Linked DNA regions of Homo sapiens: regions 1, 3 and 4 are each linked to region 2. Evidence: promoter capture Hi-C in 16 types of primary human blood cells and fetal thymus (Javierre and others, 2016). All regions are on one chromosome and are shown on one strand. Each heading gives the region's core, a stretch centred on a gene start or on the middle of the fragment in contact. The rest is flanking DNA. Distances are from core to core; before and after follow the strand shown.

The links. The method cuts DNA at HindIII sites, captures the fragments that hold promoters and counts their contacts. A CHiCAGO score of 5 or more calls a contact.
Region 1: a fragment that was not itself captured here is called in contact with the fragment with the promoter of ZNF22 in region 2 in 2 of 17 cell types (activated CD4 T cells and total CD4 T cells); the score reaches 8.3 in activated CD4 T cells.
Region 3: a fragment that was not itself captured here is called in contact with the fragment with the promoter of ZNF22 in region 2 in 1 of 17 cell types (naive CD8 T cells); the score reaches 6.2 in naive CD8 T cells.
Region 4: a contact is called between a fragment that was not itself captured here and the fragment with the promoter of ZNF22 in region 2, in 1 of 17 cell types (total B cells). The highest score is 6.2, in total B cells.

What each region holds. Positions count from the first base shown.
Region 1 is chr10:42,783,626-42,787,178 of GRCh38, reverse strand. It overlaps BMS1 (BMS1 ribosome biogenesis factor), which reads right to left. Exons shown (of 23, transcript NM_014753.4): 2 at 2,609-2,817; 3 at 1,507-1,697; 4 at 1-11. The coding sequence starts at 2,784. Among named protein-coding and RNA genes, the nearest start is that of BMS1, 2.6 kb to the right of the region's middle. The HindIII fragment of the contact is 1,222 bases long and covers 1,238-2,459 here.
Region 2 is chr10:44,999,285-45,002,843 of GRCh38, reverse strand. It overlaps ZNF22 (zinc finger protein 22), which reads right to left and starts at 1,921. Exons shown (of 2, transcript NM_006963.5): 1 at 1,866-1,921. It overlaps LOC124902530, which reads right to left. Exons shown (of 3, transcript XM_047426129.1): 3 at 461-2,064. The coding sequence ends at 1,435. It overlaps ZNF22-AS1 (ZNF22 antisense RNA 1), which reads left to right and starts at 2,041. Exons shown (of 4, transcript NR_126421.2): 1 at 2,041-2,314; 2 at 2,428-2,558; 3 at 3,422-3,527. RefSeq lists an enhancer at 1,305-1,805 and a silencer at 1,532-1,881. The HindIII fragment of the contact is 6,687 bases long and covers 1-3,559 here.
Region 3 is chr10:42,548,194-42,551,520 of GRCh38, reverse strand. It overlaps the pseudogene ZNF37BP. Among named protein-coding and RNA genes, the nearest start is that of LINC00839, 74 kb to the right of the region's middle. The HindIII fragment of the contact is 3,766 bases long and covers 13-3,327 here.
Region 4 is chr10:42,638,959-42,642,768 of GRCh38, reverse strand. The region is part of intron 1 of LOC105378268 (a long non-coding RNA gene); the gene reads right to left. Among named protein-coding and RNA genes, the nearest start is that of ZNF33B, 2.3 kb to the right of the region's middle. RefSeq lists a silencer at 894-1,188. The HindIII fragment of the contact is 1,839 bases long and covers 1,625-3,463 here.

The DNA of each region.
Region 1 (3,553 bases), core at 599-3,098, 2.2 Mb after region 2:
GCGCTTTTTACCTATAAGTGAAAAGATGAAAATTTTACTTTAAAAAGACCCTGAAAAAACTCTAACCATCAACTCTTAATTTTCATTTTTTAACTGCATCCAGTAAAACATCATATACATTTACAGGAGCATACAAGAAGTTCATTTTTACAGGCAAAAACTGATAAAATAAAATAAATTCCATTCTGTTTTTCTTGCTGTGTTCTAAATTTAAATAACATCAAAAGTCTACCCAGATGAATAAAAGTGCTCAAAAAGGGAAAATTCTGACTGCACAGACTCCATGATAACCATGATCCTGCTGTTCAGCTGCAGGCCCAATGTCTTTGCCTCTATCAAAACTTCCCGTATTCCCACTAGAGCTACAAACATCCTCAAACATAATGCAACAGAATATTCATAACAATAATTACTTCTAAATTAAGGTAAAAATAAAACAGTCAAGAAAATATGGGCTGGGCACAGTAGCTCTCGCCTGTAGTCCCAGCAACTTGGGAGGCCAAGGCAGGCGGATCCCTTGAGCCCAGGAGTTTTGAGACCAGCCTGGGCCATATGGGGAAACCCCATCTCTACAGAAAAAAAAAAAAAAGGAAAAAAAAGAAAAATTAGCCAGGCGTGGTGGCATACACTACTCAGGAGGCTAAGGTAGGAGGAATGCTTGAACCTGGGAGGTAGAGGCTGCAGTGAGCCGTAATCACACCACTGCACTCCAGCCTGTACCACAGAGTAAGACTCTGTCTCAAAAAAGGGAAAAGAAAATATGGATGCTCCAAAGATAAAGAAAAGCCTCAATCCAACTATATTATTGCAATAACAAGAGATTTCAGAGTGTACATTGCCATTCTACCACTGGAAGTTTGTTTCATTTTCCCTCAAACTCGGAAAGGTCACCATCTCCCAAAGCAGACAATTCTCACAGGAAAAAGAGAAAACTCGCACTTCCACCAGAATGTGGCTTCATAAGGCAAGCATATGCACCTGGCACATAGGAGGTGCGTGCTATCTGTTAAATGATGTGTTCACGGTGACTAGGCCTGCTAGGCCCTTCCAAGGAACATGTTTGGCAAAGCCAAAGAGCAGTCAGGATAAGACATAGTGAACATTATCATTTCTCATACAAAAAATGGAGGAGGAAACCAGGAAGAAAAGGAAAGCATCACCTTAAGAGGCTGGACCACACATCCTTCTACACGGAGGAAGAGGACTGTGGCTGGTGTCGCAATCGAGCAGCAAAGCTTGATTTTCCAGCCCGAGTGCTGGGTTCGAGTATCTTCCTGCCTTGGAACCTCCCAGAGTGCTGGGAGGAAATGTGAACATTATCACATCCTTATCTCTGGGAACTTACCCTTTTCTGAAGCTATAGCCAACTTAGTAATACTAAGTATAAGAGAAGTCCCATGATATGACAATATTTAACATGTTCCACTCAAGAAAACAACAAACGCATGCATGTCCCTCAGATGACAACAGCCACGCCAACTCTGTGTCTGTGGTGGCATCTCCTACCTGACACAATCGTCACAGGGCCTCTGATCTCAGTCAACTTCTGCCGGGTAAAGTTCCGAATGAGGCATTGTATCAAAGTGCTCTTTCCAACTTTTGGAGGTCCCATCACCACTACCACTATTGGTGGGGGCTCTAGTGGAGTTCGATCAACCACTGGAATATGATGCTTTTTTGTCTTCAAATCCTGAGTCCTATTCATTAAAAAATAAACAAATAAATAAATAGTAAACTCATTTTCAAAATAGAGTAAAAGGTATCAACCTTATAAGTAGACTTTTTTGGTACACTTATAGCTATGAGTACTTTAGCACATTTTATAGAGAGTACAACAGACAATATATAAATATAATTAACTTGTCAATTATTAACTTGCTAACTTCTGGCCCCATCCAAATAATTGCTGTTCAATAAAGATGTAACAAGATGACTTCAATACTATAGAGAGCGAAAATTAAACACTCCTTAAATCTGACTGTTTTAAGAGTGATTTTAATAGTTTTTTAAAAAACCAAAAGGTAAATAGCGAGGCAGTACATCATAGCAGATAAGAGCAGAGGCGCTGGAGTTACATTTAGCTCTCCTACTTACTGGTTATATGATTGGAGGTAACTTGTTTTCTTGATCTCAGTTTTCTTACCCATAAAATGAGGGCAAGAATGATTCCTACTCTGGTAAGGCTGCTGGAAGGATTTAGTTGAATAATGTTTAAAGTACACTGCTAGGCATATCACAAGGGCTCACTAAATAAAGCTATGTTAGTATTAAATATTGTAATTTTTGTATTTTATATTACAACTATGTAAAACATACCTGGGGGGAAAAAGCACACTTATCACCATAGAAACAGTTTAAAATTTAGGAACAAACAAAGTCTATAAATTCTTGTATCCTGGGCAATAAACACTAACCAGTATGCAGATGCTGGAGGCAAGGCAGCTTCTATGGGAAAAGCTTCTCACGTTTTAGTGAAAGCCACACACCATGAATCTCCATGTCCTTTGGAGCTGGACTAGACTCGTGAATCCAAATGTCACCTGTGAGAGGCTCCTACTATTTAAAAAAAGAATCAATGGAAGAATGACCAGACCGTAGCCTAACATACCTGTGAAAGGATCGAGCCATCCGCACAGCAGACTGAACTGCAAAAGCTTTGGGATTTCTCTTCCGGGCATCTTCTTCGTCTCCTAGCTGGAGATCCTGCAGAAGCCGCTTCTTTTTCTTTGCAGCTTTGGGTCCACTGTTTTTCTTTCTGTGTTTCTTCTGGTCCTTAGCCTCCATAGTGGCTATTTACCAATAACAAGTAACTCTAACCTACAAGGAAGAAGGTTGGGGTAAGGAGATGGGAGAAGCATTTTACAATCCAGGCAATACCCAGGGAAAAACAGTAAATTTCATTTATTTCTTTATGAAGAGATGATGTATTTGTTCACTGAACAAGGGTAGAAACTGCTTAACCATCCCCAATTTCATTTCTCTCTGTTATGCTATAAATTAGATGAGTTACCTCTCTTAAGATTACATTTTATGGTTAAGTTACTTTTTATTCATCTTAAGTGTCAACATCAGCAGTATCTATTTCTGCAAGGATAGAAATATACTATATCTGTACTTTTCAGCCATTTAGCCATTAGCCACATGTGGTTACTTACAATATACTTAGGGAAACTGAAAAAATGAGTTTTTAATTAATTTCATTCTAACTCCAAATAGTCACATGTGGCTACCATACTGGACAGCTCAGACCCAGGTATCAACTGGACTGATGAAGTGGTTTCCTAACTTAAACTAAAACTTAAATTTTAATAAAAAAATGTGAAACGTTTTTATGAACCTCCAATATGATCGCAGTATTACTTTTAGTACCTGTTGACTCTGTAAAACTCCTAAATTACAACTTATCTACATACATTTGAAAAATAGAAATAGCTGTACGTGTGAGATAGGACTGGTTCTAGATGACACCTGGAGACCCCATGAACTTACAGAGACCCTTCCAGTGATTTCTGAGTTACCTGGGAATCTGTGGCTAATAAATTGGCAATCACTG
Region 2 (3,559 bases), core at 672-3,171:
GTTCCATGTTAAACTTCTACTAACTAGTAACTGCCTAAGGTATCCAAATGAATAAGAAATGACAAATTACACTACTTTATGATATATTCCTGTTTATCTGTATTTAGCATTCGATTTCCATAGCTCTAGATGACAGTTTAGCTCTAATTCTGTAGCATAAAGTGTTTTGAAAATTGAAACTTCTCTACAGGGAGTGGTAGGTTTACTTAGTCTATGAAGACACGCTTTATTATTGGTTTTTATAGATCCTAATGATCCAAGAAAGCAATTTGTTGAAAACCCAAAACGAAAGTACTGTTTTCGGAGACAGAAAAACTGCAAAAGAACTTTTACCAGAAAGTGGAATGAAACTGAGTAGAAAACGCATGGTAGGTAGGACACAAGAAAAGGAGAGGGGGGAGAAAATGAGTTTACATGTAAAACTAGGATGGAATTTTTAGAATACCCAAATGCTGCAAAATTCAAAATTTCAAATGATTTTATTTATTTATAAGGCTGACTTGTGGCTATTTAAAATAACGGCCAAAACAAACCAACAAAAACCCCTACAAACCCCACATAGGTGGCAATGTCGGAAAATCTAGAACTTCAAAAGCAATAAAATTATTGGAACTATTTTTCATTATCTTGTGTCAGAATGTGGAATTTAAAATAGAAACAATTATTCTGGGTTTCTTTGCATACAAACATATAAAGCAAATAAATGAAAACAAAAACATAATTTTTCTTGCCTTCCTTTCATCTTATTGTATAATTGAGACTTTAGGTCCAGGACTTTATCTGGATATTTAATAATTACATCAGCTGTAATTATGGTCAGCGTAAGAGTAAGCCGCATATAACACAAGATTACAGTTAGGACTACCCACTCCTTAACTTAAGCAAATATTTACAGAACATCTACCACACAGGAGACATTGTGTTAGGTACATGGTGTTGGTGTTGCTTTTTTTTTTTTTTAATAACTATAATGGTCATTATACATAAAAGCACACGCATTTAATACAATGGAAGTCAGATCTAGTCAGAAACTCAGACTGTCAAATCCACCTACGGATGAGGCAATCATACTAGTATGTGCCAGACACTGTGTAACTTGATTCTGTGCTAGCTCTTTAATTCTCCTGGCACCTTTATGCAGTTATTTCCGTTTTAAGTTAAGGAAACGAGGGCACAATGCTAGAAGGCACTGGCCGGGTTCCCAGACCCTAGCAGTTTGACTCCAGAGCCTGTACTCTTAGTGGCAGCCACATCTTCCATTGCTCAGTCCAGCGCGGCGACCCGTGCTTTGCATAGCTCCCCAGCAGGGGCAAGCACGAAGTTAAACCTGAGTGACAGAAGCTGCTGTTCTTGCACACCCAGCTAACTGGAATGTGCCTCAGTTTCCTCGTAAAATGGGGAGGGTAATGATAAAGTGGCAACACCATCAAGATGTTAGAAGTTGCAATGAGTCTGAATCTGAAAACCGCTCAGAGCAGCCCTGTGCTGCCTAAGCATTTGTTCCACGTATCTAGTCCTCGAACGCTCCGAGCGACGGAAGGGGCCGGGGCTGCTGCTCACCCGCCCAGTTCCACCCGCCGCGGGCCGCGCCTCGCCCGGGCCCCCAGTCCAAGCCTCCCGTTCCCAGCACTCCGCCGGCCGCTCCTCATTGACCCGGCCCGCCCGCCGCGCAGGCCGCGGCCCCACCCTGGGCCCGCGTGGCCCTCCCGCCCCCGCCCGGCGGCCAGGCCCTGCCCGGAGGCGGGAGACGCAAGCCACGCCATCGCCCGGGCCCGCGCCGCCCTCGTTGCGGCCAGCGCGCTCCCGAGCGGACCCGAGTATCCGACGCAGGCCCCGAGCGCCCCAAGTGCCCCAATCCCACTCACCGCGCGGGACCAGCCACCACTCTGGCTCGCTGGGCGCCTCCCGCGCCGCCGGAAGTGAGGGCCTCGCCGCGCTCTGGCGCCGCCGCGGTCGCTCTAGGAAAGTGGCGGAGCGACCCTCTATGGTCCCGGGCCCACCCGAAAGCGTTGTTCGTTTCTTCCTGTGGTTTTGTTTTCTCCTCCCCCCAACTCGGAAGGCGTCCTGTGACCCCCGGGACCTCAAGAGCTGTAACCGCCCCTGTGTGTGGTCGAGGCTTTTGAAACCAAACTCTAGCCTCTCCAACCTAGAAACTGCATACTTTCCACAAATTTTGAGATTTTTGAGACCCTGGTACTTTTCACGAAGTCACCTTAATTATCACCAAAAAGCTCCTGCAAGATGGGAGTGGTTATACTCCATTTACAGGAAAGGAACCAAGGCTCAGAGAAGAAATGTGCTCCGTTCACCGTGTGTAAGCGGACGACCCAGAATTGGAATGGTTCTTTGTGGCTCCAAAGTCTGATTTCAACACACCCCTTTTGTTGCTCATTAGTAATGATCTCTCTTTGTTCTTATTCCTTCCAGGCTCCTCCTCAGCCATCCTGGCCGTGCTCAGTCATCTGACCAGCTGACCTCCGTGTTCCCCCACTCCCTGGGGAGCTCCTCCGCCTTTTGGCTTCCAATGCTATTGCTGCATGCTGAAGACTCCCGCATTGGTAACTCCAGTCTGACTGTGGGACATAAATGTTATTGAACTTTAGACTTGTATATCGAACTGATTACTCAAGAGCTGCATTTGCATGTGTAATGGACATCCCAAACCTAACATACCCCCCAAATGAATTCCTGATATCTACCTAACCTGTTCTTGCAACAGTCTTCTTCCCAGGGATGGGTGAAGATCCCATCATCTTTCCAGTTGCTCAAGCCAAAAACCTTGATGTCACTGTTGTCTCTTCTTTTTTTCATCCAAAATTCACCTGTGATTTATCCACAAATTCTGTCGGCTTCATCGTTAAAATATATTCATTATCAAGCCACTTTCAACACTTCCACTGCTATAACCACCAAGCCACCTTCATCCACCTTCTGGATTATTATATTGGCTTCCAGACGGGTTGCCCTACAGTCTATTCACGGCCCCAGAGTAATCCTCTTAAACCTAAGTTAGATCATGTCATTCATTTGTTCAAAACCTTCAAAGGCTTCCCAACTTATTAGAGCAAAGCCAAGGACCTCGCAGTGGCACCCGATGCCTCTCATGATCTGTCTCTTTAGTTCTTTATTGTGTCTGCAGTGCTGAAAACAGTGCTCAGCAGGGAACAGACACTCAGTAAATAGCTGTTGAATGAATGAATTTATAAGATGCCTTATTGTTTACAAAGTACTTTTACATCTTATCTTCTGGTTATTCATCTTCACCATAGTCTCATGAAGCACAGATTATCATATCTGTCTTGCAAATCAGTAAACTGAAGCAAGAGAGGCTGACCTGCCTGAAGTAATACAGTGGTTTGTTGGTGGAGGCTAAACTAAGTCATAGGTTCATTCTCTTAAGTTGGGGCTTTCTGCTCTGTAGGGAGCTGTCTCTGCATATGGCAAAGCACAAAGCTGAATGAGGTCTGGACAAAGAAGCTCCACTCGCAATCTAGAGAGTATCTGGACTATTGCAGTGATTAAATGAGGTAATGTAAGGCACTTAGCACAATGTATAACA
Region 3 (3,327 bases), core at 646-3,145, 2.5 Mb after region 2:
AGGAAACAAGCTTAACATGTTAAGTGACTGTTGACATTGACACATTTTGTTGTGGCAGAGTCAAGAACAGACACTGAGTCGCTTGAGGACTCAGGCAGGTGTTTGCTGCATTGACAACAGAGTAAGAAAAAATCCGTTTGCTTTTTAAAATCCAAAGATGGTTTTGAGAACCTGAAACCAAGTTAGAGCAAGTTCGTTTTCCTTCCAAAAAAACTGGGCTCTGCCGGGCGCAGTGGCTCACGCCTGTAATCACAGCACTTTGGGAGGCTGAGGCCGGCAGATCACGAGGTCAGGAGTTCGAGACCAGCCTGACCAACATGGTGAAACCCCGTCTTTACTAAAAATACAAAAAATTAGCCCGACGTGGTGGTGCGCACCTGTAGTCCCAGCTACTTGGGAGGCTGAGGCAGGAGAATCACCTGAACCCAGGAGGCAGAGGTTACAGTGAGCCAAGACTGTGCCATTGCACTCCAGCCTGGGTGACAGGGCAGGACTCTGTCTCAAAAAAGCAAACAAAAAAAAACTGGGCTGAAAAATACCACATCACTTTTTTCAAAACCTTGTTGGGATTCTCTGGTTTATAATAAAGATTAAAACCTGAATATTTTTGTTTAGCATCAGTTTTAATGAAAGTATTATGTTCCATTCTTTGGCTTTTCCTAACTTGCTTAATTAGTTTAATATATTGGTTTGCATACTCTGTTAGAGTACAGCATAAGTTGTTTATAAGTCAGTAGAAAACCAAACGTTTTCACATTTGAAAACTAATGTGTCCAAGCAGTACATAACCATGCCAGAGTCATGCATGGACGTGTGAGTATCTCCCTTTTAGAGATGTTTTGCCAGCTGGGAGGTGGACATTTTTAGGCAAGTGACATTTCTCATGTTCTTTTCTTGTTTGTAAGCTACACCCTCTCGGTTTTCTCTGCTCTGCCAACACTAGTGGAATATGATCACATCCCAGGTAAGTTGTTTATTTTTTCACAGTTTTGCTTAAAACTAATTATTGAGGTTTAAAAAATGTCTATACATTCATATGAAAGTAGAAATAACATCCTGGAAAATATAGAGGAGAGGTCACATTACAGTTCATGGGTCAAATGCAGCCTACTGTCTGTTTTTTTATGGTCCACAAATGAAGGATGGTTTTTATACTTTTAGGTGGCTGAGGGAAAAAAACCAAGAGTATTATTTTGCTTGGAAATTGTATGAAATTCAGACTTCATTGTCTATGAATTTTTATTGGGACTCAGCTATACTCATGTATTTATGTATTGCCTGTTGGTACTTTCACACTACAAAGGCAGAGTTGACTGGTTGCAGCAGAGACTGTAATGGCCTACAAGCCTAAAATATTTACTGTGTGACTCTTTACAGAAAATGTTTGCTGATTTCTGATAGAGAGTTGATGAAGAGTAAGACAAAAATGTCATATAGGTGAATGCAGATCTTGTGATCTTACAGTTGTGAAACTGGAACATAAAACAGTTTGTCGGTGGGCTTTATTAGGTGACATTGTGAAACTTCTGATGACAGTCTTGCAGGTACTTAAAAAAGTAGTACAACAAAGTGAGTAATTCATGTGCAGTCCAGGGGAAAACTTAACAGATAGCAAAAGAAAGTATATGATTAAAAAATTCAAATAGGCCGGGCACATTGGCTCACGCCTGTAATCCCAGCACTTTGGAAGGCTAAGGCGGGTGGATCATGAGGTCAGGAGTTCGAGACCAGCCTGACCAACATGGTGAAACCCTGTCTCTACTAAAATTACAAAAATTAGCTGGGCATGGTGGTGCGTGCCTGTAATCCCAGCTAGTCAGGAGGCTGAGGCAGGAGTATCACTTGAACCCAGGAGGTGGAGGTTGCAGTGAGCCGAGATTGTGCCACTGCGCTCCAGCCTGGGCAACAGAGTGAGACTCCGTCTCAGGAAAAAAAAAAAAAAAAAAAAAAATCCAATGAATTGTGTAGCATTAGGACTCATGGTTGTTTAAAGAAACAGTCCTGGTAGGCTAGGGTGATCATGGGTTGTTAGGATGTGGCAGGCTTTGTGACAGCCTTAGAGACTGGGCAGAACTGGAATATTTGCAATAACTTTCGAGGGATTCTACCTAAAAAAAAAATTGTGGTAAAACACACATCACATGAAATTCACAAGCCATTTTAAAGTATAGAATTCAGTGACTTTAGTACATTCACAATGTTGTACAACCATAACCACCATTTATTTCTGGAATATTTTCATCACACCAAAAGGAAACACATCACCCTTAATAAGCAGTATTGTAACTTAATAAGCAGTTGCTCCCTTTTCCCCGCTGTGCTCCCAGCCCCTAACAACCAATAATCTCCTTTCTGTCTTTATAGATTTGCCTATTTTGGATATGGCATATGAATGGAATCATACAATTTGTGTCTGATCTCTCACTTAGAATAATGTTTTCAAGACCCATTTATGTTGTAGTTGTATATCAGTACTTTGTCCCTTTTTATGACTGAACAATATTCTATTATATGGATATATCACCTTTTGTTTATCCATTCATCTGTTGATGGACATTGGGGGTCATCCTGTGTTTCGCTATTGTGGAGAGTGCTCCTATGAGCATTCATGTACAAATATTTGTTTGAATACATGCTTTCAATTGTTTTGGGTATATACGTACAAGTGAAATTGCTGGGTGATATGGTAATTTTACATTTAATTTATTGTGAAACCGACAGTTTTCCACAGCAGGGTGCTTTGCAATCCATAGGAATTTTTAGTTAGCTTTTCTATTTCTGCAAAAAAGTATGTTGAGTTTTTGATAAGTATTGGATTGGGTAAGTATTAGAGTGGGTGATAACACTTTGGGGAGTGTTATCTTAATATTAAATCTTATAATCAATGAACATAAGATTTTTTTTCCCTAGGTCTTCTTTCCTTCATTAATATTTTGTAGTTTTCAGTGTACAAGTGTTGCATATCCTTGCTTAAATTTATTAAATAGTTTTTCATTTAAATGCTATCGTAAATTATATGAAATTCAGACTTCAGTGTCTATAAAGTTTTATCGGGACTCAGCCATACTCATGTATTTATGTATAGCCTGTGAGTACTTTCACACTACGAGGGCAGAGTTGACTGGTTGCAGTAGAGACTGTGATGGCCCACAAGCCTAAAATTTCTTTTGTTTAAATGCTATTGTAAGTGGAATTGTTAATTTGCTTTTTGACTGCTCATTGTAATGAGTACACAAATAATTTTTGAGTGTTGATCTTGTATCTTGTAATTTTGCTGAATTTGTTTCCTACTTCTAGTAGTTTCTTTGTGGATTCTTTAGTATTTTC
Region 4 (3,810 bases), core at 1,295-3,794, 2.4 Mb after region 2:
ATAAACACAGTGGAATATTACTCTGCTATAAAAATGAAATCCTGTCATTTGCCACAACATGGATAGGCCTGGATGTCATTAAGTGAAATAAGTCAGACACAGAAAGATAATTACTGCACATTTTCACTTATATTTGGGAGCTAAAAAAATTGGGGCTCATAGAAGTAGTGAGTAGAATTATGGGCATTAGAGGGTGAGGGGGTAGTGGGGAGGGCAGGATGGGGAAAGGTTGGTATATGAATACAAAATTACAGCTAGATAGAAGAAATGAGCTCTGGTGTTCCACAGCCCTGTAGGATAAATATAATTGACTGTAATTTATTGTGTATTTTCAAAAAGCTAGAAGAGAGGATTTTGAATGCTTACAACACACACACAAATGTCTGAGGTGAGGGATATGCTAATTAACCTGATTTGATCATTATACATTTTATACACATGTCAAAATATCAGTCTATATCCCCTAAATATGCACAATTATTAGGTGTCAACGAAATGTAAAAGGGAAAAAGGTACAAAAACCGAAGAAGAAATGAGAGGAAAAAATGAGCCTCCAGAGTTAATCAAATTCACCGTAAAAATGAATAGCTGTGGCCAGGTGTGGTGGCTCAGGCCTGTAATCTCAGCACTTTGGGAGGCCGAGACTGGTGGATCACCTGAGGTCGGGAGTTCGAGACCAGCCTGAACAACATGGAGAAACCCCGTCTTTAGGAAAAATACAAAAAATTAGCCAGGCACGGTAGCACATGCCTGTAATCCCAGCTACTTGAGAGACTCACTTGAACCCGGGAGGCAGAGGTTTCAGTGAGCCAAGATCATGCCATTGCACTGCAGCCTGGGCAACAAGAGCAAAACTCTGTCTCTGTCTCAAAAAAAAAAAAAAAAAAAAAAAAAAATAGAATAGCTGTGATGGTTAATGGTTAATTTTATGTGTAAACTTGACTTGGTCACAGGGTGTCTGGATTAAACATTACTTATGGGTGCATCTGTGAGGGTGTGTACAGATGAGATTAGCATTTGAATCAGTAGACTCAGTAAAGCAGATTGCCCTCCGTATGTGTATGGACATCATTCAATCCCCTAAGGGCCTGGATAGAACACAAGGCAGAGAGGAGGAATTCACCCATATTTTCTGCCTCATTGTTGAGTTGGGACATTTCATCTTATCCTTTCCTGTCCTTGCACTGGGATTTACACCATTGGCTTCCGTGGTTCTCAAGCCTTTGGACTCATACCAGAATTACACCACCAGCATTCTTGGATTTCCAGCTTGCAAATGACAGATTGTTGGACTTCTTAGCCTCCATAGACATGTGAACCAATTTCTCATCATCAATGTCTCTTTCTCCCTTACTCCCTCCTATTGGTTCTGTTTCTCTGGAGAATCCTGATTAATACACTGGGAATAAACATTTCCCCAAGCCCATACCATAGGTGTATATTAGTGTTTTTTACAATCTTTTCAAATCTTAAACTTAAAAATATTTTATTTATTTACAATTTCTCCCAATTGGAAACAACTTGCATATCCCTGGACTGGGGAATGGACAAGGAAGCTGGTAAATCCATACCAAGAAATAGGAGTCAGCAATGTCAGAGTTGACAAATTACTCTTCAGAAAGCTTTAGTTCCCTGTTGTTTGTTGCTCAAGACCAACTTCCTTGTACTTCCTTGTCTCCAAGCTACCTGTTCTGTAAACAACCTTCCCGCCTTTGCCATGCCCAGACAAGTCCGGATATGCCTTCCCGCTTAGTAATGGACAGTCCCCCTTCCTTCCCGCCTAATAGACCCTGTCAATTTTAAACCTTAGCCAATCGAGTTAGCTTTGATTGTGAGGTCTAATCCCAGCCAATGGGGAAGGGACACAGAAGTGCTAGGAACTGCATCAGGGATAAAAACCCCTGCCCTGCCCTTCTCGGTGTTCTCTTGTGATCATGACTGGCATAACCTGCACCCTTCTGCAGAAGTAAATTTCTCTTGCTGAGGAATTTTCTGCCTTTGTGCTGGTTTTCTCTGCGGCACCAGGCACTTGTTTCTAACAGCAAGAAAAACAGAAGTATTGGTACACAAAACAACACGGAAGGATCTCAATTGCATTGTGTTAAGTAAAAGATACCAGATTCAAAGACTGCATATTGTATGATTCCATTTATATAATATTCTAAAAAAGGCAAACATACAGGCCCAAAGACTAGATAGTGGCTGCAAGAGGCTAAGAGTGGTTAGAGAATCTGACTTTCAAAAGGTAGCATGGAGGAATTTTATTGACAGGTGAAATAATTTTGTATCTTGCTTGTGGTGGTGGTTACACAAATCTGTGCGTTTGTCAAAACTCATAAAATTATGCAACAAATAAAGTGAACTTTTCAGTATATAAAGCATAAATTTAAAAATGTAAATTTCAATATGTTTCACATATTTTTACTCAAATATTTGCATTTCCTTTTTTCTTTTTTTCTTTTTTGAGATGCAGTCTCACTCTGTCACCAGGCTGGAGTGTAGTAGTGCGATCTTGGCTCACTGCAACCTCCACCTCCCGGGTTCAAGCGATTCTCCTGCCTCAGCCTCCTGACTAGCTGGGACTACAGGTGCGCACCACCACGTCCAGCTAATTTTTGTATTTTTAGTACAGAAGGGGTTTCACCATTTTGGGCAGGATGTTCTCAATGTCTTGACCTCATGATCTGCCCGCCTCAGCCTCCCAAAATGCTGGGACTACAGGCGTGAGCTGCCATGCCCGGCCATATTTGCATTTCTTTCAATTCTCATAATGGACTTAAAAAGTTTTGCTGGAATGGAGCTGCTTATTTTTCTCTATTATAAAATGTAACTGATATTAAATTTATAGTTTCTGTCTTTGGTATCACATCCCTTTTTGGTTTTTTTTGAGACAAAGTCTCACTTTGTCACCCAGGCTGGAGTGCAGTGGTGCCATGATGGCTTACTGCAACCTGGGGCTCAAGTGATCGTCCAACCTCAGCCTCCTGAGTAGCTGGGATCACAGGCGCCTGCCTACATGCCCAGCTAATTGTTATTTTTAATTTTTTGTAGAGACAGGGGTCCCACTATAACGCCCAGGCTGGTCTTGGACTCTAAGGATCAAGTGGTCCTCCTGCCTCCACCTCCCAAACTGCTGGGATTACAGGTGTGGGCCACTGTGCCTGGCCCACATGTCAATTTTCAAAAATTTATACTCGTTTAAATGTTTCAATACTGTATACATGTGAATTTTATCACGTGTGATCTATATATATCTCTATATTCCAAATTGTTAGGAATGACATGCTCTTTGGAATACTCCATTCTTTCCCTCACTGTTTTGAAATGCTGTATTTACTACACATTAAAGAATACTCTCAATCATGGTGTCTTATTTCCATGGAGCAGGTGCCAAACTACTTTGAATAGAGCAATATTATATATATAGATAGATATAGATATTTCTCAGGCATTTTTTCAAGCTTTTTAAAACGTATAATGGCTGTTCATTTAGTTTTTTACTTACTCTGGATAAAGTTGACAATGCTTTTGTAAAGTACACAATACACTAAAGATCAAAGAGAAAAAATACATAAAAAAATTTGTTGATATTCTTTTAGGAATTTTGTCTTCCTAAGAAAGGTACAGATAGACTAAATGTATTTCCATTTAGTCAAGCAATTTTAATGTCACAGGGGAAATCATGTGACATTTATTTTCTTCTTTCGGATTATGTCTATTTTCTGACTTTTCAATTTCCGTTTATTGCGTTAACGATTTTGATGAAGTAGCTTTCCTGTGGCACCTCCCCCATCCCCCCCATCCCTGCTC